5 separate regions of the Homo sapiens genome follow, and regions 1, 2, 3 and 4 are each linked to region 5. The links are contacts of gene promoters, found by promoter capture Hi-C in blood cells and fetal thymus (Javierre and others, 2016). All regions are on one chromosome and are shown on one strand. The core of a region is centred on a gene start or on the middle of the fragment in contact, and the rest is flanking DNA. Distances in the headings are between cores, read along the strand shown.

The links. Contacts are between HindIII fragments. The CHiCAGO score rates a contact against its expected background, and 5 or more counts as called.
Region 1: a contact is called between a fragment that was not itself captured here and the fragment with the promoter of UCHL1 in region 5, in 1 of 17 cell types (M2 macrophages). The highest score is 5.1, in M2 macrophages.
Region 2: a fragment that was not itself captured here is called in contact with the fragment with the promoter of UCHL1 in region 5 in 1 of 17 cell types (M0 macrophages); the score reaches 6.0 in M0 macrophages.
Region 3: a contact is called between a fragment that was not itself captured here and the fragment with the promoter of UCHL1 in region 5, in 2 of 17 cell types (M0 macrophages and M1 macrophages). The highest score is 7.3, in M0 macrophages.
Region 4: a fragment that was not itself captured here is called in contact with the fragment with the promoter of UCHL1 in region 5 in 3 of 17 cell types (M0 macrophages, M2 macrophages and M1 macrophages); the score reaches 6.5 in M0 macrophages.

The regions. Positions count from the first base shown.
Region 1 is chr4:40,974,157-40,977,004 of GRCh38, forward strand. All of the region lies in intron 6 of APBB2 (amyloid beta precursor protein binding family B member 2), which reads right to left. Among named protein-coding and RNA genes, the nearest start is that of NSUN7, 230 kb to the left of the region's middle. The HindIII fragment of the contact is 5,502 bases long and covers 1-2,848 here.
Region 2 is chr4:40,995,174-40,997,903 of GRCh38, forward strand. The region is part of intron 6 of APBB2 (amyloid beta precursor protein binding family B member 2); the gene reads right to left. Among named protein-coding and RNA genes, the nearest start is that of APBB2, 220 kb to the right of the region's middle. The HindIII fragment of the contact is 2,969 bases long and covers 1-2,730 here.
Region 3 is chr4:40,939,857-40,942,634 of GRCh38, forward strand. All of the region lies in intron 7 of APBB2 (amyloid beta precursor protein binding family B member 2), which reads right to left. Among named protein-coding and RNA genes, the nearest start is that of NSUN7, 190 kb to the left of the region's middle. The HindIII fragment of the contact is 287 bases long and covers 1,356-1,642 here.
Region 4 is chr4:40,957,900-40,960,599 of GRCh38, forward strand. The region is part of intron 6 of APBB2 (amyloid beta precursor protein binding family B member 2); the gene reads right to left. Among named protein-coding and RNA genes, the nearest start is that of NSUN7, 210 kb to the left of the region's middle. The HindIII fragment of the contact is 1,732 bases long and covers 479-2,210 here.
Region 5 is chr4:41,255,647-41,258,346 of GRCh38, forward strand. UCHL1 (ubiquitin C-terminal hydrolase L1) reads left to right here and starts at 1,282. Exons shown (of 9, transcript NM_004181.5): 1 at 1,282-1,363; 2 at 1,469-1,480; 3 at 1,963-2,091. The coding sequence starts at 1,331. It overlaps UCHL1-DT (UCHL1 divergent transcript), which reads right to left and starts at 1,081. Exons shown (of 3, transcript NR_102709.1): 1 at 913-1,081. RefSeq lists a silencer at 1,398-2,157 and an enhancer at 1,992-2,492. The HindIII fragment of the contact is 2,127 bases long and covers 535-2,661 here.

The DNA of each region.
Region 1 (2,848 bases), core at 21-2,520, 280 kb before region 5:
TCCTCTTCTAAGAACACCACTAAATATTGGATTAGGACCACTCTAATGACCTTACCTTAACTTGATTACAGGTGCAATGACTCTCTTCCTACATAATGTCAGACTTATAGGTACCAGAGGTTAGCTCTTCAATGTATCTTTCTGGGCGGACACAATTCAACTTATTAATATAGTGAATGTACTCAGAGATACCAGAACTGTTTGAGGGTAGGGAGAAATCTTCACCACACTATACTCTCAGGTTTTAGCCCAGGGCCAAGGACACAGAAGGAGCAATACATGTGTGCTCAAACAGACCAACAAATCAGTAAACCAGTTAATAAATGGCATATACAGCTACTTTTTTAAAAGGAGAAAGATTTATAGTTTTATTATAGTAAACAGAGACTAAAAGAACAGAAGTTGCCTAACCACTTCTCTGTTATAGAATTATAAGAAGGGATGCTGAACTTACAGCTTGCCTATACATCCAATTTCAGGCATATCTAATTCCAATATCTCCATGAAGATCTGTCTGGAGAAGTAAACCTCTTTAATCTAACATGATCAGAGAATATCTACTGAACGACTCACTACTTTGGGCTGGATTCTAACATAAATTCTGAGAATACACAGTAAGAATGGCATACAGTCGCTGCCTTTAAGGAACTCACATTTCTAGTGGAGCCAAAGCAACCTTACATTACAAATGCCGAGGGGCATGTGCATTGATGCTCATTGATCATTTCTCTGCTTTATTAAAAAAAGTGCTCAAAACATGATTTTACTTACATACCCCTTTTATCCCAAATGTGCAGAATATTCTCCAATTTCTGCTACAACTGCTAACTGCTACAACAAGAGACACTTCAACCCTTTGTCTCTACCACTGCTAACTGACATGTCCTTTCAGCATTTAGGGTTTGGTCTGGGTCCCTCTCCTTCCTCCCCACCCCAATGCTAGGCTATCACTCCCTAATACCAGAGGGCTTGGTTCTATCAGCTTATTTTTTCTGCTGATCCGTCCTCCCACCATCCACTCTCTTCTAACCCACTGCAAATAATGTCTTGTCAACTATGAAACCATGTTAGAAATGTACATAAATCCGAGTAAACAGGCCTTGAGTAAGGGCCCAGAGAGTCTTCAATAAGTGAATTGAACGTGTTCCAGTATATGGACAACAGGGAATCTATCTTTGGTTTCTCAAAAGGCTTTCACCCTTTTTTTGGCTTCAAATTACTAATCCAGTTCTCCCCTCACTCCCCTGCACCACAGTGCTTTTCTATGTTGAGTACTAATCACAACCATTTTTGTCTAATTTTGTGTTTAATTATTGTCTGACTTCTGCAATAGAATTTCAGCTCCTTGAGGCTATAAACCTCATGGACGTATCATTAGCACAATCCCTGGTACATGCTGCACGTTATTAATAAATATCTTCCTCTTCTAACATTTATGAGTCCTTACTGCCCCAGGCACTGTATGAAATACTCCACATGCTTTATCTCATATAATCTTAGAGTTGGCCTAGCAAGAGAACCATCACGTCATGATGCCTTCCCTACAGTGCACACAAACAGCTTTCAGGTAAATAAAGAATTTAAATGTAGTAAGAAAACACACACACACACACACACACACACACACACACACAACAACCACTCTACTTTCCCCTATATAAACCTCATTCTCTACAAAAACAGAGAACAAATTCTCTACTGATTTCTTATTTCTTAACCCAGGACTTGGATTAACTGATTCTAGGGACTCTCATGAATACTTTCATTCTCATTTAATCCAAACCAGTAAATTTACATTACTCAAATGCTTTTTTTTTCTTTTTTTCCCCACACAATATAGAAATATGGAAATATTCAAAGACTTTTATTAAATGAATTTTTATCCTTCTTTCTGGCCAAAAATATTAGGAAAACTATCTGCAGTATGAAGATTTATACAAACTCATAAAATATTAATAATGTTTAAGGCTATTTTTGTTTCACATAAAACCTTCATTATTTCTCTCCTCTATAAAATTCAGTGCTACAGAGTTAATAGCATATAGAAAATTTACTAAAATTAGACTTTAATTTCAAATTATTATTTAGACATGAAAAAAACCAACAATGTTGAATATAAGCCAAAAATCCCAGTTTCATAGCAGCGAGTGGCAAGTTTAAAATGGTGCTTATTTTTAATTTTATGTGCAATGTATAATTTACTGTAAAAACTAAATCATATAATTAATGGAACTCACTATGAGAATTAGCTAAGATGCTAGTTGTTGATCTGACACCAGGGGGCAGACATTTTGCTTTAACTCTAAGGTTAGCTAAGGTATTCTAAATCTTTTAGTTAAGGGACTGGAGACCTTTCTTTGGGAATCATATTACCATAGGAATTTCCAACTTTTAAAAATTAGTAAAGTGCCTAGAGATTAAACAGCAGTTAAAAACACTTAACAGCTGTGATCATGGAGCCTCTGACCACTAATGTGTACTGAACTTCCTATGTGAGGGTCATCAATCTGTTAAGCAATAGATCCTAAACAGACACAGCACTGGGGCTCAGGAGCTTCCAGTCTAGGGCTGGAAGTGAACATTAATTTCCTATTTATTCAGATGGGGCAAGGTGGCTCATGCCTGTAATTCCAGCACTTTGGGAGGCCAAGGCAGGAGGATTAGCTTGAGCCTAGGAGTTTGAGATCAGCCTGAGCAACATGGGCAACATAGTGAGACCCCATCCTATAAAAAATAAAAAAAATTAGCTGAGCATGATGGCTCATGGCAGTGGTCTCAGATACTTGGGAGGCTGAGGTGGGAGGATCACTTGAGCCCAGGAGGTCGAGGCTACAGTGAGCTATGATTG
Region 2 (2,730 bases), core at 217-2,716, 260 kb before region 5:
CTATGCAGTTGAGTAATTATTTCTATTTGGAAAATAATACACTGGCATTGAGAATGTGCACTGAACATGCAGTACCAAGAAATCTAACACCTAGGAGAGTGGTAATTCTCATAACAAATTAATAGATTCTTATTTTGGCTCCAGTGTTTCTTATTTTGGCTTTAGTATTTCTCGAGAAGTTGATTAATAAGTCCATCCGTCAGAAATGGATCTTTTTTTTGAGACAGAGTCTTGCTCTGTTGCTCAGGCTGGAGTGTAGTGGCACCATCATAGTTTCAAATGCCAGGGTCAAGCGATCTTCTGGCCTTAGCATCCTGAGTAGCTGGGACCACAGGTATGTGCCACTATATCTGGCTAATGTTTAAAAAAAAAAAATTTTTTTTTTTTTTTGAAACAGACTCACTTTGTTGCCCAGGCTGCAGTGCAGTGGCACAAACACAGCTCACTACAGCCTCGACTTCCTGAGTTAAATCCTCCTACCTCAGCCTCCTACGTAGCTGACGCCAGCATGTGCCACTATGTCTGGCTAATTTTTTAATTTTACAGAGACAGGGTCTTGCCATGTTGCCCAGGCTGGTCTTGAAATCCTAGACTTAAGTAATCCTCCTGCCTCACCCTCCCAAAGTACTGGGGATTACAGGTGTGAGCCACCGTGCCAGCCCTTAAACATTTTTTTAACAGAAACAGAGACTCACTATGTTGCCCAGGCTGGTGTTGAACTCCTGGCCTCAAGAGATCCTCCTGCCTAAGCCTCCCAACATACTGGGATTACAGATGTGAGCCACCGTGCCCCGCCATGGATCTGCTTTTAATGCCTGGTTTTAGAGCCTCTTAGCTAGATTGTTGGCCACAGTTATTTCACTGAGGTTACATCTGTTGAGTGTCTCACTTGGCAGAGATTCTGAACATCAGTTTGTGAGTGCTCAAGCATGCTTGTCTTTCTACAAGTGGCCCCTTCACTTTACTGTAGAGAACTAGAAATGAGAGAAATGGGATGTGTCATCACTGTATTTGAGAGTTCATTGGTGAATGAGATATCTAGCCATTTTTCTAGAACTATGGCTAAGTTGAATTTAATATTTAAGATGAGGAAAAACGAAGACTGGTTAAACCATTATAAGTATTTCACTGTTTTTGTTTGTTTGTTTTGTTTTTTAAGGCAGTTCTCTAATAACACCCAATCTGTTTAAGCCACCCATGTTTCCACCCCATCCTCATCTGATCACCCCTCTGAATCTTGGTTAAAATAAAGGACATACACGAGTCCCAGACAGGGTGCAGAAATTTGGTGTCCAGGTGACAAAGTCTGAATCTCTCTGACTTCTCCCTAAAAACGACAACTCTATCTTGAGGATGTCAGTCCTTGGCTATTATTCCCACATCATCTCAACTGACATGTCTAAAATCAAACACATCATCTTTCTCCAACAATTAGCTCCTCCTCCCATCTCTACTATTTCTGAAAACTAACATTTTCTTAGTCTTCAACTTGAAAATCTGACATATTTGATTCTACTCACTCCCTCTCCACCCACATCCAATCAATCACTAAATTCTAGAGATTCATCCTTTCCTCTACTTCCACTCTATTTTTAAAACTACTAATCTTGTCCAGTCCTCATAATCTAAACAAATTACTGTAAAACTCTCATAATCACCTGCCTCCTTTTGAAACTGACCCAATTGTCCCACAGTGCTGATATTTATGGTTTCTTTGAATAAACATAGAAATTGATCCTCCCAGTCTTAAAACTTGAAAAAGTTACTTTTGTCTTAGCTGAGTTCCTTTTTCAGGAACTCAACCATCAAGCCTCCCAGATAGCATGAAGGAGCTGAAACTTACATGACCGCTGCATATGGACAATGAGATGCCAGACCCCTCACCCTCACCTATCATGATTGCCTATCCAACCACCTGCTTCCTGTTGACCAGCTCCTCTTCCTTACACCTCCCTAATTCCTGTTTTCCCACATGTGGTTACATTTCTTCCCTACTATATAAACCCCTAAGTTTAGTGTGTCGGGGAGATGCATTTGAGACTGATTTCCCATCTCCTCAGCTGCAGCACCCGATTAAAGCCTTCTTACTTGGCAATACTCATCTCATTAAATGGCTTTCTGTGCGTCAAGCAGCAGGTCCTAGACCAAACCTCTGGTGTTTCAGCAACATTAACACTTTACCCCACAAACATATTCTAGCCACCAATATCAGATATACTTTCTTTAAACTCTACCTTACAAAGGGCATTCCTTTTCTCATAAGCATCACTCATGTTTCATTAACAAAAGCAAGGTCAGTTAAGTACATTAGCACATTCTCTGGCCTCTACCTACCTATTTGACTTTCTCTCTCACAGTTATCATTCTTCAAAGACTCTTCTTTCCAACCAAATTGCTAAGAGCACTGATCCTCATACCTAGAGCAGAAGTTCCCAAAGGGAACTTCGAGGAGTCTCAGAGATTGAAGCTATTTTCATAACACTCAGATGTTATTTACAACCCTTTTCACTGTGTTGACATTTAAGTGATAGGGCACAAAAAATAAATGATAACATTGCTGGCATCTCAGCATGAAGCAAGACAGTAGCATAAGCTATATTAGTGGTTATTGTGTTCCCCAATGTAATAACGTCCTTGAAGCGGTAAAAATTATTAATTTTATTAAATCTCAACCCCAAAGTATTATGTTTTTAATGAAGGTACACATAAAGTGCTTCCATGGCATACTGA
Region 3 (2,778 bases), core at 249-2,748, 320 kb before region 5:
TCAGAGAAGTTAAAAAAAAATCAAACTAGTAAACTGGTTTGTGCAATTAAATCAGTCTCTGTGAGCAGCAGTGCAATGCAGAAACTACAATGTAGAGGGGGCCAGGAGAATGAGGGCTCTAGGGCTGGCTTTGTCATTGCAACAGATCAACTAACAGCTTCCTTGGCTATGCAGCTGATTTATTTTTTCATTCAGCAAATAGTTAATGAATGTCGTCATGTACTGGGCCCTGTGCACAGGATGAGGAGAACAGGTCCCGGCCACCAAGGAGCTTCCTAGTGGGAAAGTGACATACCACAGGTAACAACACTACAATGGGACATGATAGAATACAGGGCTTTCAAAGCAATGGGGTAAGAGCAGTAGCTCTGGGGAGACAATGGGGTGAGGCCAAATAATTTTTGAGGAAGGGACATGCAAATAAAAATAGGGAGGCTATAGTCATTAGAGGACCTGCTGTCCTACTTACTCAGCGTAAATCACTTGGAGAGCTTATGCAAAGGTTCCCAGGCCCCATCCCATTCTGTGATCCCCAGAGGTTCTCCTGGCACCATTCCTCGGCTCACTGGCTGAGAAATACGGCCTGCACATTCAACAGGCCCTGCTCCAAGATTCCTTCCAGCACTCAATGTCATGATTACTTGACTGAGTGAAGAAGTTCAGAAAAATGACGGCAGAACGGCCCTTTTATGTTGTCATCTTATTTCTACATGTATATGAGAATACACAGGCTTAAGGTATTCCACTGGGCACCCTCCTGGGGGGGTTAGGCTCTCATGACGCCCGTGAGGCTGTGAGCACTTCATAAGAACAGGCTGATTTAGGACCAAGAGGAAACCACAGTTTGAGCAACAATTCATTTTCTCGAGCTTCAGACCCGCCTTCTCCATACTTTCTTCTGTAGGAAGACCAAAACACCTTCATTTGAAAAGATGGGAAGACTTGGCCACAAGCCAATGGATATTCATAAAAATATTTTGTGTGGCTCTCCGTTCTCTCTAAAATTCAATATCCAAGCAGTCTGCAAGGTAATTTGGAACAAATAAATGGTTTGGGCGGGGAGGAGCACCACGTGCTAAATTTCAGCAGCAAATGCTTCCTGGCCAGTTTATAAACTTTCAAAAATACTGCTGGCATATGCAGCGGAAACATTATCCACTGCGCTTAACACCTCCCAAGTGAACTTTGGAATGTGAAATGTAAAATTTTCAAACTGTAAGGAAGCCTTCAGTTCTAAACTTTTGTGAAGCCTAGTCAACAGATTTAGCACTTAGTTATTTGATTCTTTTTTTTTTTTTGAAGCCAGCTCAGAAAAAAGCTGAATAAAATATGCATTTCTAACACAACATATTACAAGCTTCTTCTGTCCCTTAAGATTTTGCTCTCTTCTCATGCTTTGAAATTGGTTGAAATAGATTCTATTTAGGAACCAAAGAAATGGTGTTAGAAAAATAATCATTTCTCTTCAACTGTCATTAGCACCTGAGACAATGATATTAAGAAAGGTCATTTTCTAGAAGGCTCCATATGTGACATAGCCTCCCTTAGGGTGAGTTAAAGGGATTCAAGAGTCTCCAAGCCTCCCAGACATATGATATTGTGAAGTTCGGGGTGGAAATAGGGGCCAGGAGACCTGAACTCAAGCTTGACTCTACCATGTATTAGCTGTGTGTCTTGCCCAAACTCCTCAACCTCTCTGTCTCTCAGTGTCAAATGTAAAATGAGAAAGACAACTATAGTACCAGATACATAAGGATTTTGGTGTGTTTTTTGTTTGTTTGTTTGTTTTAAGAGACAGGGTTTTACCCTGTTATCCAGGCTGGAGTGCTATGGTGTGATCATAGCTCACCTGCAGCCTCAAATTTCTGGGTTCAAGTGATCTTCCTGCCTCAGCCTCCTAAGTAGCTTGGGCTACAGGCACATACCACCACACCTGGCTAATTTAAAATCTTTTTTTTTTTGTAGAGATGGGGTCTTGCTATGTTGTCCAGGCTGCTCCTCAACTCCTGGTCTCAAGTGATTCTCCTGCCTAGGCCTCCCAAAGAGCTGGGATTACAGGCGTGAGCTGCAGCACCTGACCACATAAGGGTTTTATGGGGAGTAAAGAGTTAAGGCATTAGGCTGGACTGTAAATATTTGATTTCTCTTAGTGCCTCTGGTTTAATATTGGTGACAGGGTCTGCACATCAGCGTATGTGGCAGGCTAAGTCTTTTCCCCAGTTCTCCTATTCCTCTTCTATCTGCTCAACTCTTTGCCTCTATGACTTATTTATTTCCTTTTAAATCTGCTTGGTTCTTTGACTTAACGGAGGACCTTATGTAGGGGGAGAAACACGTGTATTATGGGAACAACTGAAAGGTCAGCCTGAAGACTTTTGCCCTGTTGCTTTCTGAGAGTGCTGGATATGAGTCCCTGTCTCTGAAACTTCTAAAAATATGCACCTTTAACCAGCTTCCACGGAGGGATAAGCCTTTGTCAATACAAATGGTACAGTGAGCAGCAGAAGAGAGGAATGGAACTGATAGAAGGTGGAGATTCTCAGAGTCCTCGGGCTCTAGAGTCCTGGGGTCTGGAGTCAGGGAACTGGATACATCCCACCCTAACCCCAGCTGAGGGACACTTAACTCATTGAGTCTCAGTTACCTCTTTCCTTAAATGGAGAACATACCAGCTGACTTTTCTGCCTCAGGAGACTCCTGAGAAGATCAGATGAAATGATGTCTAGGAAAATACCCTGAAAACCACAACAGATTTTTAAGAGCAGTGAGGAGGCCGAG
Region 4 (2,700 bases), core at 95-2,594, 300 kb before region 5:
ATAAAAGTATGCAGATAGGATATGATCAGAGGTTGGTAGAAGATAAAAGTATACATCTCCGTTCATAGACTATTAACCAAAACCAAACACAACATAGTCAGGAGGACTCTGCATACAAACTTAAAACTAAAAGGCATGAAATGTAAGCAGCTAAAAATTACCTAGAAGGAAACTCTGTATTTGTAAATATTCAACCATCCATCGGTCCATCCATCCATAAACTTATATATAATTAAGGTTAATCATATGACCTGGTTATAGAATATTTTAGATGTAGTAAAATATTTTAATATTTTATCACTGGAATGTCTAATTCTAAATACCTCCACACAGAATAAAACACGTATTTTCTAACTAGTGATATTAAAGTCTTGAGATGAAGTATAACCTAAGAACACTATTTCCTTTTAGAGTGTGCACATAGTATACAACATAGCACTACTGAGAACCTCAGGCTTAAGGGTGCTCCTTCCAAAAAAGCTTAATAAAAACTTAAAATCTGAGTGAAGATTTGTATTTTACTTTAAGAAAACTAGAGACAATTATGGTAATCTCAATTTTGTTTTCTTGAGAAGTACTGGGAAAAAAACTGCATTGAGATCACAACCCTTAAAAATCCAAAAGCCTAAGCATAATAATGAAAGGAGAATGGGTGTAGGTGAGAATGGTCTTGAAATCAGCAATTTTTGATAATCTTCTATCTCTCTCCCTTTCTTCCTTTTTTGAGACAGGGCCTTGCTTTGTCACCCAGGCTGGAGTGCAGTGGCATGATCACAACTCACTGCAGCCTTGACCTCCTGGGCTCAAGCGATTCTCCTGTCTCAACCCCCTGAGTAGCTGGGACTACAGTTGCCCGCCACCATGCCCAGCTGATTTTTAAATTTTTTGTAGAGATGGGGTCTCATTATGCTGGCCAGGCTGGTCTTGAACTCCTGACCTCAAGTGATCCTCCCGCCTCGGCCTTCCAAAGTGTTGGGATTACAGGCGTGAGCCGCTGCACTCAGCCTTAATTTTTTATAATTTTAAAAAGTAGAGATCACATCATATTTAGATAAAATAGCTAGGCAGGCTTTATTACTTTCTCCTCCAGCTGTCTGCCTATCCCACCCACCTAATGAGTGACAGCAATACAACCTGTTCAATACCAGGCAGGATTTATTTAGGTTTGGCAGGAAGACTACCTAGTCACTCGTCCTAACCACAGTATTCCAGAAAGATCTATGATTATATGGACATTAAGCTAAGTGTAACTGCACAACATCATTCAGAGAATGTGCCCCGCTGCCACATCCTCTGTCAACCTAATCTTTCAACTTAATTTTATTCTTATTTCAGAGTGAGCAGCAGGAGAAGAGAAGACAAAATACAACCAGGGGCATGAATCTTTCTTTGGCTTCCATACAATTAAACAGAATAGAATTACTAGTGGCATCACACTCTTTCAAGGTAGGCAGGTTTGAAAATATATTAAATGGAGACAATTTTCTTTTCTGTTATTTTGGCAGGATCTTCAATATGCTTTTCTCTCAGAGCTGCAGTCCTCTGGCTAGTATACAACAGCAACGATCACAAAATGGAAGCTATTTAGAAGTGGCCTTGATCAACTCCAACGTCATTATTCTTCTAAATGGTGGCATGCCAGGACTTGATTTCCCACTTAAGTTAGATACTTCAACAAAAGATCATTATGGAGAATTTGGGCAATTGACACAGTATTCAATGACAATTTGGCCTTTTATCAGCATATTACAATTACAAGCTGAAGTGGGCGTCATGTTTTGTAAAATCCAAATCTGTGTGTGGGAACATTATTATACTACACTCTCATAGATTAGAATGAATATTATATTATACATATGCATAAACCATATACATTTTATTTCTGATATAAGAACTATAGCATGCACTTCCAGAGCACTACAGGACTTCCAAAGAGCTATAATTAATCCAATCTCACTTGATCCCACAAAATCTTGCCACAGATGCAGAGCAGATATTATTCCCATTTTACTAAAGAAACAGATTTCAGCAATGTTAAATAACTTGATCGAGGTTAGGAAAATGCTTATCATTTGGCTGCAGAAAAATCTTGGTGTATTTTTATTTGGGAGCCATCCTATTCGTTAAGTGTATTTTAAAGGTTAAGTGCCCTTAAAAAAATCAGTAGAACGGAGGTAAATTGTTCAGCCTGTCAGAGTGGTTAATGGACAAGCTTTAATATTTGATGTAAAAAAGGATTTTAGACTATGGATGGGGAGGAGGAGTACAGAGAAAAACGTTTTTCTGAGATTATGTTGTGAAAACATACTTAAAGGGATCAGAGTAAAAGCTTCTTTCTTATTACTCCTCTCAGTAATAAGAGGAGTACCTCTACCTACATTAAAAAAAGAATTTGAGGCAGGCTATATAAAACATATAAATATATTTCAGTCAATAAATAACACAAGAGAATAGACCCATGGGGTTAAGATATTTAAATTACTGGTCAAAAAATTTACAAAGTTATATAATAAAAGAAGTTCATCAAAAACAGAAATTTTTTTTCGGGTTTTTTTTTTTTTTTTTTGAGACGGGGTCTCGCTCTGTCGCCCAGGCTGGAGTGCAGTGGTGTGATCTCGGCTCACTGCAAGCTCTGCCTCCCGAGTTCACGCCATTCTCCTGCCTCAGCCTCCTGAGTAGCTGGGACTACAGGCACCCGCC
Region 5 (2,700 bases), core at 32-2,531:
TTCTCAGTTTTACTTTTCAATTGTGACCGTAAGCAAATTAACTTCTCTAGGCCTGGGATTCTGATCTGTAAAATTGCACTAATATGAGTCTCTTCACGGCTCCTCTAAGGATTAAATGAGAGACACATGCAAAGGATCCCCAAAAACAATAACTCAAAAAATGTTGATTCCCTCCCTTCCCTCTGTCATCTGTTAACCTCAACTTCCTAAATAGAAGGTCTATTCTTTTACCATCATCATTATTCTCTTCGGTGCCTATTTTTAAAAAATACTCAACCTTCTTGCTTCCTTCGCTACCTAAGTATTTCTGCAAGCCCACTTTGTTCTGCAGCTTAGCTTTCCTGGCACAATTCTTATAGATTTTGGTCCCTTTTAAAATTCATTCTTCAGCAAATGCTTTCTCTCTCCATCTTTTGACTAGAGATCATTAGAGATCACCTGAGATCATTAGAGAACAGTGGTTTCCTTGGTTGCCATTCCCTTTCTTCTTCATTGGGAGTATTCTGCGGTGAACTCAGACATTTTATTTTTCAAAGCTTCCCATTCTTTTAAAAATGCTTTTCCTTTTACAGCCTCTCGCTCAAAATCATACCCATCTTTTCCCTGGATCTGTTTTCTCAAGTCTCCAATCGCCTGCCTTCTTTGTGTCTTGTATTACCCTCACATCCCCCAGCTTTCTACTGCTCTCCCAGGACCAACCATTTCTTCCGCGGGAGTCACATTACATCAGCATTCCTAATGCAGTATCTGTTATCTACCAGATTCTGTTTTATTCTAGGTAGTCACTTAAAAACGAACCTCGGTACTGGTCTGACTTAACATGGAGGAGGAATTGTCTAAGGTTAAACGCAAACTGCTGAGAGATTTGGGGCGGGGGGCACACATTTACATTCATTCGTATTAAATATATACCTGTTGAATTTGTGCTTTTTCTCAAATGCTTCAGAGACTCGAGCTTTAGAGTAATTGGGATGGTGAAAGGATGGGTTTCCAGAAACTTCGCCCAAAATTAAAGACTCCATCAAAAGGACTGCTCCATACACTCAAGGAACACCCACCAACAAATCCCGTCTCCACAACCACCAGATTATCTCACCGGCGAGTGAGACTGCAAGGTTTGGGGGCCCGGCCGTACCACTCCGCGCTGCGCACGGGGGGTTCGTACCCATCTGGCCGCGACCGTCCGTTTCCCCCTCGCTTGGTTCTGCCCCTGCTCCCCCTGCACAGGCCTCACAGTGCGTCTGGCCGGCGCTTTATAGCTGCAGCCTGGGCGGCTCCGCTAGCTGTTTTTCGTCTTCCCTAGGCTATTTCTGCCGGGCGCTCCGCGAAGATGCAGCTCAAGCCGATGGAGATCAACCCCGAGGTGAGCGCCAGGTGCACCGCTACCCGGAGAGCGCGAGGCCGAGGGAGGGGGAGCCGAGTCGCTGATCGGTTCGGTTTTGCCTTTTTCTTTGCATTTGCCTTTCAGATGCTGAACAAAGTGAGTGGCGTCTCGCGCCGTCTCTGGCCCCCTCCCCCGCGAGCGCCGAGGCGGGGGCGCCCACCGGTTCCGGCTGCTGGCAGGGACCAAGCCGCCCGCTGCGAGCACCGGAGACGGCCGGGCTGGGGCGTGGGCTGGGCGCCTTTCCTGGGCCCCTGCATTTAGCGGGTGACTCTACGAAACCGGTCACGGGGAGACGGAGGGGGCTGCGCCCCGTGGCGAGCGAGCGCCAGGCGGAGCTCCCGAGGGCGTGGCGCGGGCAGCACAGACTCGGCTGCACGGGCTTCGCGGGCGCCACGTGTGGGCCGCGCTTTGTGCTGTGTCATTGCGCCGGCCCGGGTGGGGGTGGCAGGGCGGGACTGGGGCTCCTCCCAGGCTCGGGTGCGGGCGCGGAGGGCGCGCGCCTCCTGGCCCCGCCCCCTGGCAGGTGCCCGCGACCCGCGTGTCCCCGTGCGCCTGGCCGCCTTGTCTCCTCTCCGCAGGTGCTGTCCCGGCTGGGGGTCGCCGGCCAGTGGCGCTTCGTGGACGTGCTGGGGCTGGAAGAGGAGTCTCTGGGCTCGGTGCCAGCGCCTGCCTGCGCGCTGCTGCTGCTGTTTCCCCTCACGGCCCAGGTAGGGCGTGGGGCCCAGGATGCGCCGGCCGCCGGCAGTGCACGCCGCTCCCCAGCTTGAGTCCTCGGGGGCTCCCCGCCCCGCCCCCTCCCCTGTAGGTGATGCGGGGCGCGCCTACAAGGAAGGGAGGAGCCTGCATTTTCGTGGTACCTACTCCCTGGGCTCCTGTTCCAGCGGTGCCTGTCGCCTTCTTGCCCATCCGTCCACAATTGCCTTAAATTTGGAAGAGAGGCAGTATCTCAGTTCCATCTATCCCGTTATCCAGGGAAATCATTCATCCTACTCATGAGTTCCCTCGAACTTGGGCTTTTTCGAGCCTCCGGTTCCGGGGAATGGCTGCTGGTTTCCCTTTAAGGGCTATAACCTGTCAACTCATTGTTTGCTTCTCAGACTCCCACCTAGCTGTAGAATGGAGGGGGAAGGGCTGACCTAAATCGCAGGGAAACAATTAGGTTCGCTAATTCTCCGCCTCCATTACTTGGGTTTCTGATGGTCTTAAGGGGTTCTTCTCTCTTCTCCACTCCCACCACTTGCACACTTGGTTTTTAGCCTCTTGAATGTATTTCTTAAAGCTTAATCATTTTGTGTATGGTTTCTGTGTGGGAACCT